Regions from separate parts of the Homo sapiens genome. Here regions 1 and 3 are each linked to region 2. The links are contacts of gene promoters, found by promoter capture Hi-C in human tissues and cell types (Jung and others, 2019). All regions are on one chromosome and are shown on one strand. The core of a region is centred on a gene start or on the middle of the fragment in contact, and the rest is flanking DNA. Distances in the headings are between cores, read along the strand shown.

Region 1 (3,188 bases), core at 686-3,185, 510 kb after region 2:
ATGTTATCATTTGCTGTTCTTACATAAGCACTCATGAAAATATGGTATTCTGTAACTTGAATTCCATCCATTTTCCAGACCTCTACTCATGTCTGAGGTAAATCTAGAAATTGTCTTAGTTTTAGGATTGAAACAGTCTATAAACTGTATTTTTGGTCCATCCAGGAAGCTAGTCCCTTGTTTCTCCTTTCTACATGACATTGCAGTGGTGGTTTCTGTAATTAAAATTTGTTTGCCTCATGTCCCTTTGTCTGATAAACCTTCACTCTACCGATTCAGTTGTGAGCATTCTTTTTTTCCTTCTCAAAACCTACTATGATTTGTTTTACTGAACAAAGGTTATCAACCACACATCCAGTCCTGACATGGAGCTTTTCAGTGTTTGGAGACATTTCTCAATCCCCTGCTGTGGTAGGAACTCCAGTGGTGAACGGCTTGCGCGCCTGCAGCCAGAGTTGCAGGGAAAGCTCGTACTTACTGCGAGCAGCATGTAATCTTTTTTCTTCCTGGACATAAAGATAGCTTGAGTAAACTGTTCTATTTCATTCTCTTCACTCTTTTTACTGTCTTGCAAAAAAAAAAAAAAAAAAAATAATCAAAGACCACTAATAAGATTCCACCTCTCCTTATTAAAATAATTTTTTAAAATTTTGTTTTGCTTTTGTTTGGATGTGGGGTCTCTCTTCTATTTGACTTTTACATTTAGATACAGAGTTTGTAGTACTTCAGAGACATTTCAAGCATGAGAATTTGAGGTTACCTCTCTTTATTTGACCTTTAGGGACTCACGGGAGGGCAGCCTGATTTGTAATGAAGCACCACATTTTGGTGTTAAAAACCTGGTTTGCTTAATAATAGCAGTAATTTCTGTCTGTGGAGGCAACAAATAAAAAAATTAACAGCTTGAATTGAGTAGCCAACAGGAAAGGTTCCTTTCACATTTACATTAAAACTATTCTGTAGTCACTAATGTACCATAATTTAAATTCTTTTCTCAAAGGTATAGATTATAAAGCAGTGCCATTTGTTGCTGTGGTCCTATTCTCAAATGCATGGACAATGTTCCCCCCTTTTTAAAATAATGCTTGTGTCTGGGATGCAAGCTTTGCTTATCTTTTTAAATACATTTTTAAAGTATTTATTAATGAACCAAAGGAAATCAGATGCTTTCTATAAGCATCAGAATATATAATACATAGTGATTTGACTATGAATTTTAAATCCACATTTTAATATTGGTGGGATATTGCAAAGACATTCCTTCTAAAGTTTTAATATTCCTTTTATTAAGGGTCTCAGGGAGGGTAAATTAGTCAGCCATATTTATTTTCCAGAGGTTTAAGAAATTGCTGTTTTTAACTTTTTGAAAAAACTTAAATGCCACCAAACTCATGTAGGTTGCACTGCTTATTGAACCAATAACTGTTGGTATGCACTTTGTTCAGACACACTGTGTACTTTTTCAAAAACTAGTTTCATGTAAAGTGATTGGACCCCATAGATTAGTGGAAAAAGCTGATTAACCAGCTACTCATAGGCTGCTAATTCATTCATGCCAATGTTTTGGTTTTTCAGTTTTGCCTCCGTGATAAATTAAAGAATGGGGAGGGGTGAAGGAAGGGGAAGAAGATTGCTTTAGAACAAGTGGCATGAAATTACCATCTTTGTAGAAACCGCAGCTAACAGTGGGAGTTATCTAAGCAATCAGATGTTACAGGGCCAGCCCTTTAGCTGCTGTGGTGTATTCTGTTGGGTAGTGAGGTAGTAGGTACTTTATAGACTTTTAATTTTGGAAATTGATGACATCCCTCAGGCATGTATTCTGGAAATGGAATTCCTGTAACTTCCTGTGTCTGCAGTATGCCCTACAATTAGTAGGCAGCGTGTAAAAACACTAGTGTAGATTATAAAGATATACATTAAAAGAGGACCAGAAATACTTGGTATTCAGTGGCACAGAAAGCAGGTTAAACAAACAAAAAGCACAGTGTTACGCTTGCAAGTTTCCATTTGTTTTAATACCACGCAATCTTTCACACTCGTGCGTGTGCGCGCACACAGAGCTTACCTGACTTGCTCTGCTTGAGTCATGCAGTTACAAAAAAAAAGACATCTTGACACCCACACAATATTCTAATCAAAACCTTTCAGTTTCAATCTGGATATTTAAAAACATTGGCAGAAGCTTCTGTGAGTTTAGTTCCACTAAGATGTTTCACCTGCCTTATCAAGACCATTCTCAGTCTACTTTTTTAAGCTACCGTATCTTAAATTATTGAAAATTTATTAATTGCTGAATATATAATAACCTTTGCTTGTATGTAACCGAAAATGGTTTAAGAGCCAACATTTAGAGTATGACAATGGAGCTGAACAGTTTTTAATGCGCAAGCAGTTCTGTTCTTGTGTATGACTTGTAACCTTAATTTACTGTGTAAAGATGGTTACATTATTTCCTTAGCTTTGTTTGTTGGAGACAAATAGAGAATGCTTGTTAAGTATGTCAAAACAATCTTATCTTGTGAATTTTTGTTAATGTATTATACGAGCTATATTTTTCATTTGCCCAGAAAGACAGCTTGTATAACGCTTTTGGAAGTTTCTGCTCTGTAATGTCTTTAGAGCTGACAGTCTGTTAGGTTTGTTTTTTTCTTCATGCTAAAGTGTCAGTTGGTGGTTTTGTGAACTGGTCAAAAATTCACAGGTCTTAAATGTTTTGGGGGAAATTTATATTGGACACTGCTCTTTGTCTAGCAAATAAAAGATGTTAATATATTCCTGTTACTGGCATGTGCACGACTATGTTATTAGAAGCCACTTTATCATTTTCCTGCTTTAAATAGAAATGTCTATTTATGAATTCTGCTTGTAGTTTTTTCACAAATAAAATAGTAAAATTTACATTGGAAATCTTTATTTTTGTGTGTATAGATTTTAGCCTTTAGAATAATAGTTAATTTTTAATCTGTGGAATATTTCCAATGTGAATAGGAAGCTCACTTTGTATTTTAGAACTTGTTTATCAGAAGCTGAAATAGCTGGGTATCTTAAGTACATACCTCAAAGATGCAAAAGGAGACATAATGGGGCAAAAGAATCACCAAAATTTGAAAGAAAATGAACTGTCTCCTAAGTGTAACCTTTGAGATAGATTGCAATGATGTAAAGGAAGGAAATGGGATTTAAGG
Region 2 (3,475 bases), core at 817-3,316:
CGTCTCTCTACTAAAAATACAAAAATCAGCTGGGCATGGTGGCACACGCCTGTTTGCCAGCTACCTGGCAGGCTGAGGCACAAGAATCACTTGAATCTGGGAGGCCTGAACCCGGGAGGCAGCGGTTGCAGTGAGCAGAGATCGCAGCACGGCACTCCAGCCTGGGCGACAGAGGAAGACTTTGTCACAAAAAAAAAAAAAAAACAAAAAAAAAACCAAAAGAAAAACAGCGGTGGGGGGGAAGGTTATGGTGTGGATTATGTAGTTGTATATGTTAAGTGTTAACTGTGACTATTTGTATGTACTGCGGTTAGCACTGTCCCTGGCAATAGGTTAGCGATGTTAAGGATGACAGTTATTATTATCTTACCAGTTGTCCCATCAAACTTAGCAATCATATTAAACTTGCAGTTAAACCCTAATTAATCTCTTACAAGAAACTCCAGTATAGAAGAGGGGAAATCCTATTAATTTCCTAACAAAGATATCCTTAAAGACTGTATACATCCAGAAAGGGCTGTAAAGTGTTATAAGTACTTTAAAGCGACAGATTGTTGGGGTTTTTTCCCCCTAAAACTTGTCAGTACCCATTTGTACTGAGACAGAAGGGAAACAAAGGCTGACACAGCTACTTCTTGAGGTTTCGTGTCTTTTAGTTACAGTAAAGGCACCAAAGAGATTTAGTCATTATGGTCAAAAATAATTTTTCAACTCCTTTCAGGTTGAAATTAAGGAGCCCAGCAAACAAGGACGTTGCAATGGCAGTTAGAAACAACAGTTTTGAAAGGGCAGATGAAACAGACTCGCTACAAGACAAGGGGATTGTTGAAAAGCCCTCCACAACAAAGGAAATGAACTCAAATCCCTAACCTGCGGGGCGTTCCAGCAACCCTGAGGCCAAAAATAAAGCTCTCTGATGAAAAGCCTCCGCGTGTTAGGCTTTGTGTAGGGAAAGAGAGTATCAAACAGAAGGTCGAAGGTTAAGTTGTTTTTCTTGTAGGAGGACCCTTTGACCACACTCGAGCCTGAAACAGAATGAGGATCTGGAAACCCCCACTCTGTCTTTTCTGTGCCACGCATCAGTCCTTTCAAGGAGAAAACTTCTTTTTAATAAACTTAGGTCAAGTGTCCCTTCTGTTCTAAGCATGGGGGTACTCGAGGTTAAATGAGAGGCTGCCAGTCCTTGGTAAACATCTAACTTTTCCAACTCAACCATATCTAAGGTTTCGGTAAAATTCTCCAGTGAAACATGAGAATTAGATAAAACATTCTTGCACCGTGATGGCTTTTGACAAATTAAACAAAGGGTGCATGTTTGCAAGAGTGCAAAAATACGCCTTGCCTTGACAGTTAAAAAATGTAATGTACGAAACCACTTTCCTTGACACTTCAAAAAATGTACGTGATTATCAACACCGAGCTGTTAGGGGGACTCCACCAAGGTGGGTCTTCTTTTCTATCGGGTTAAGAAACAGAAGTGGGCAGCCCGTGGGTGAAACTTGGAAATCTGTCTCTCCAGCGCAAAGCCTCCCTTGGACTTGGCACGGGTGTAGGGAGCGAGACACGGGTCCGCAGATGGGATTCTGGGGTTGCCACGACTCACCTCGCCAACTTCTCCAGTCTCGCAGCGCCCCGGCGGCCCGCTCGGGGGCGCGGACGCGGGGGCCGGCGCCTCCGAACTCCCGGGCTGGCCCCGGGGAGGGCGCCCGGCCCCGGCCAGCGCGCGGGGACAGGCGCGGGGTGGCGCTGCGGGGCGGACGCGGGGCGCGCGGGCAGCGCTGGGGGCTCAGCGCGGCCAGCGCGCAGGGACAGCAGCGCCAGCAGCAGCGCGGCCAGCGCGAGCAAGAGCAGCGCCGCCGCCTTGCTGCGGAGCTTCATGGTGCGGCGCGGCGGCGGCGGCGGCCCCCAGGCGGCTCGGCCCCTCTGCGCATCGCGGCGGCGGCAGGATGAGTGCAGCAGCGCGCGGCGGTCGCCTCCTCCGCCCGCCCGCCGGGGACTGGGGTCGTGGCGGCCGGCGGGCGGCCGGCGGCGGCGGCGACGGCGAAGGAGGAGGAGAGAGAGGAGAGGAGGGGGAGGCGGTGAGAGCTGGGTTACAGGAGGAGCAGCCTGCGCCTACCGTACTGTGTGGAGTAGCCGCCCCTCCGCCCGCCCGCAGCCAGGCTCTCGGGCTTCTGGTAGCTCAGACTCAAAACCACTTCATTCATTCATTCGTTCGTTCGTTCGTTTACTTCCCCATTCACTCACACACCCATGCCATCCACTGTTCCCGCTGATTCTCTCATACCATGATTCACTTATTTGTTGATGTATTCCATGTGCTTCCTCCTTATTTATTTTATCCATCTATCCACACATTTGTGCACTTATCCACACATCCTTTCAGGCAGGAACATCTCTGTCCTGTTTGCCCAGTGCAGGGATCTGCGGGTGGTGGTGCCCAATAAATATCTGTTGAATAAACCCCTATTGCCGCCTCTGTCTTGCCACCTCCCTTTTTCCTGGAGGAGGACATATTCAACAAGGACACATGCAAAATAAGGCAAAGCGAGTAAAAGTAACACGTGATTAGTAGTTGGGGTTTCAGACTCAAAACACCAAAGTAGAACTTGGGACAGCTAGACTGGACCGAACCGATCCATGTAGTCTGAAGAAATTAGAGAATGAATTTCAAAGTTTGGATTTGAAATCTGACACTGTGCTTAACTGGCTTGGTGATCCTGAGGAAGCTGCACAACTTTCTTAAGCCTTAACTTCCTTACGTGCAAAATGGGAATGACAATACTGCTCACTACAGAGGCGTTTTGTGAGCATTAAATTAAATAATGCCTTCAAAGAAACTAGCACAGTGCCTGGCTCACAGTCGGTGCCCAATAAAAGTTCTGTAATGATTAGTTCAATAAAACATAGCTTATAATATACACATAAACACACATTTTATTTTCTTTCTGGCACAGATTTGAGATAGAGTAATAATTTCACAACACAATGTAAGAATGGCTTCTTTGGAGACTTTAACAGCTGCAATCGCCAGATGAAGGTCGTAATTTCCAGACGATTCTTCCAGGGGATCCCCAGTTACAAATCTGAAACATTAGGACACATCCTCTTATGACTCACGGTGAACTGACAGCCAGGACTCCATTAACTCTCTTTTCAGCACACCACAGAACAAAGAACACTAGTTAAGTTATAACAACGTCCCTGAGTTTTTCAGTTTTTTTTTTTTTTTTTTTTTTGGATCACTCTGTAGCCCAGGCAGGAGTGCAATGGTGCAATCTTAACTCACCGCAGCCTCCGCCTCCCGGGTTCAAGCCATTCTCCTGCCTCAGCCTCCCAAGTAGCTGGGATTACAGGCTGCGCCACCACACCCGGCTGATTTTTGTATATTTAGTAGAGACGGGGTTTCACCACGTTGGCCAGGCTGGTCTTGAACACCTGACCTCAAGTGATCCGCCCGTCTCGTTCTTCCAAAGTG
Region 3 (3,070 bases), core at 75-2,574, 620 kb before region 2:
GAACCAGGAAGGTTGTCATGGAGATGAAAATCTTCCTGGTCCCATAAAAACCCTGCTTGTCATCTGACTTGAGCCCCGTATTTGCACAGGTGGTTCTCCTGAGAAGGGCTGAGTAAAAACAAATCTATTCTTCCTGAATGGCGCCTTTATGTGTCCAAGAGAATATGTTTCCTTTCTTCAGTCCCTCAATTAATGACCCATTATCAGCTAATTAAATCATGTAAATTTTATGTGAGTTCATTTGTTACACCACATGCTAACTAAGTCTATTCCTGTGTGTTTAACCATATAACTGTTTTAATTGTGAGAATGAGGTACATCAGGTGGGCATCTGGAGAGAATAATAAAGTACTCAAGAAAAGCAGACACACATACACAGCAGTGTAATATTAATTTCTGTTTATAAAGAAGGCAGAAATATGAATAAGTGAATGTCTAGCACATGCCCTGTGACTTCGGGATACTGTGTTCAACTCTATTCTCTACAGAAAAGGAGTCACATGGCTGGGTTTCTGTTTCGCTGAGTTACGTTTCAGATGCAGAAGTCGACTGCATGATACAAAAACACATCTGTTTAGGCTCTCCCCCTCCCCACTCTTGCTTTCTTTCCTATGTGTCAGAGAGCAGAACTTGATCTTTGTATACATTTTGTATAAAAGCCTTAATTCTAGGTTTAATTTCAGTTTGTGATACCTTTCTGCCCCAAAAAAGTTCAAAGCTTTTACCAAGTTTCTCAAGGCACGTTCATGGTTGCACTGAGAGAGTTGAGTTCAGACACAATAAATGCTGTGTTACATTTTTGGAAACGTACTTGTATTGTCATTTAAGACCTTGCAAAGTACATAGGGAAAAGCATTAGATGATGTCCTCTATAGTCAAAAACTACCAAACAAAGCAAAAGAAGAATTTTTTATTGTTCATTGGATAAGGCCAAGTAGACAGCAATGGGAATAATACTTTCATTAAAGCTTTACGGATAAAGAAATGATTTAAAGTGAAGAAATCATACTTTTTTTGAAGCCTGGTATTTAAAGAATGAAATCATACTTCCTTGAGGTTTAAAAATATTCATGTGTAATGCTAGACTTTGGTTATGCATTCCCAGATGTTTAACGCACTCATCATTTGTAAATGGAACTTACGTCAGATTTATGACCTCAGAATCTTCAAGTAAATAAAGGACCACTTATACATTTGCTTGTAAAGGTAGCACCTAATAGAGAAAATTTGAGGGAACCATTAAAACAAGTATAGGTTTAGCTTATAAAGGAAACACTAGTATCTAAAACTAGTTTAATTTCTTTTAAATGGACTGGGTTACCAAAGTACTTCATGACATTTTATGTTAGTAAAATGTTAAAATTTTTAAGTTAAAATCAAGAAAGCATTGAGATAAAATTGTTTTATTCAAAACAACAAAACTACTATCCATGATAGTATAATATTCTCTGACCAACAGTATTCATATACACAGCCCCAGAAGTGCAAAACCACAACTGTGTTTTCACACCTGTCTCTTGCAAATTCTTACTTAACAGATCAAAATGACCATCTTGTAGAAAGTATTTTGTGTAAGACACTGTCACCTGTGAGCCAGCAGGTGGTGCTCTGGTACCACGTCTTGATCATTCGTTTCAACTGAGAGAGGAGGGCTGCAGTCTCAATGATACCAGGCTCTAGGATTTTCTGTAAGATGCCACACAGCTGATCTTTAGAAATACCTGGCCTCTGGGGGATTTGCTTTCCATCTGACCATTTAACATCCTTGACCGAGCTGCCTTCTCTATAGCTGTACTGTTGAAATTTGTCATTTCTTACAGCTGCCTGGTTTCATGAGCTGCCAGTCTCAGAACATAGCATACCATAAAATAGGAATTCTGACCACGCAGCCTTATGGGTAAGGCAAGGGAGGGAGTTGAAGGGAAACCGCTATAGTAAAAGAAAACTCAGAAAGATAAATGTTAAATAGAATCAATGGATATTGGAGAAGATAATTTTAGTTGTTGGTGGCCTTAACTTATGGAGAACTCAGTATCTTTTCTCAGCTCCACCTAACAGTTCCCATCTTTTAGGAAAGCAATTATTTAGATGCCAGAGAACACCATTATGGAAATGGAATCTTTTTAAAATAAAAACCTATCATTTTGACTGCAACCAAGTTATAGTTTTGACTGAATGCATAATTATTACCCCAAACAAAAGGTTTTATACCTGATTCCATGCCATGATTCTTCATTGTGACCCTTTACTTGATTCTCCATCATGAGCAACCAAATCAAGATGCACATGTGTAAGTAGTGCCTTATTTTTTTCTCACTTAGCCCACTGTTGTTTCTCTTTGCTTAATAGCACAGCTCTAAGAAAACGGTTGCATTTGGTCTACAAGCTAGCAGCAATTCAAGGAGCTTCATTTTCTAATGACTTGTTTTATTTTATTTTATTTCATTTCATTTATTTATTTTGATACTGAATCTGGTTCTGTCACCCAGGCTGGAGTGCAGTGATGCGATCTCAGCTCACTGCATCTCCGCCTCCCAGGTTCAAGCGATTCTCCTGCCTCAGCCTCCTGAGTAGCTGGGATTACAGGTGTGTACCAACATACCCGGCTAATTTTTTGTATTTTTAGCAGAGATGGGGTTTCACCATGTTGGCCAGGCTGTTCTTGAACTCCTGACCTCAAGTGATCTGCCCGCCTCAGCCTCTGAAAGTGCTGGGATTACAGGTATGAGCCACCACACCTGGCCTTCTAATGACTTGTTTTAGAATGTGGATGTCAATGTCACCCACCTTATTCTCACCAAATATGGAGCTAGAGAGCCAAGTTTAACGAGGTTTTCCTTTGACACCCTGAGAGCCTCGCGTTGCATCCACTTCTTTCCAACATTATTATTTATGCTTTTTACATAGTAGGCACACAGCAGGTATTTGTTGAATGAGCCATTGCTAGATTAGAAGTGGGAAAGACTGACAGTCGAATCGTTAGGAGTCGTCTGCAGTCGTCAAGGTGAGTGATGACAGTGGCCTGTATAGGGAAAGGGGGAAGCTGGAGATGGGATGGATGTGCCCTGTT

The links. Contacts are between HindIII fragments. The study calls those that stand out against the background at their distance.
Region 1: a contact is called between a fragment that was not itself captured here and the fragment with the promoter of GXYLT2 in region 2, in 1 of the 25 tissues and cell types used here (IMR-90 fibroblasts).
Region 3: a fragment that was not itself captured here is called in contact with the fragment with the promoter of GXYLT2 in region 2 in 1 of the 25 tissues and cell types used here (dorsolateral prefrontal cortex).

Annotation. Positions count from the first base shown.
Region 1 is chr3:72,374,319-72,377,506 of GRCh38, reverse strand. RYBP (RING1 and YY1 binding protein) reads left to right here. Exons shown (of 4, transcript NM_012234.7): 4 at 1-2,910. Among named protein-coding and RNA genes, the nearest start is that of RYBP, 71 kb to the left of the region's middle. The HindIII fragment of the contact is 4,095 bases long and covers 1-3,188 here.
Region 2 is chr3:72,886,637-72,890,111 of GRCh38, reverse strand. GXYLT2 (glucoside xylosyltransferase 2) reads right to left here and starts at 2,066. Exons shown (of 7, transcript NM_001080393.2): 1 at 1,604-2,066. The coding sequence starts at 1,878. RefSeq lists silencers at 1,567-1,696, 1,797-2,026. The HindIII fragment of the contact is 12,200 bases long and covers 1-3,475 here.
Region 3 is chr3:73,501,407-73,504,476 of GRCh38, reverse strand. All of the region lies in intron 3 of PDZRN3 (PDZ domain containing ring finger 3), which reads left to right. Among named protein-coding and RNA genes, the nearest start is that of PDZRN3-AS1, 120 kb to the left of the region's middle. RefSeq lists an enhancer at 1,741-1,810. The HindIII fragment of the contact is 3,053 bases long and covers 1-2,850 here.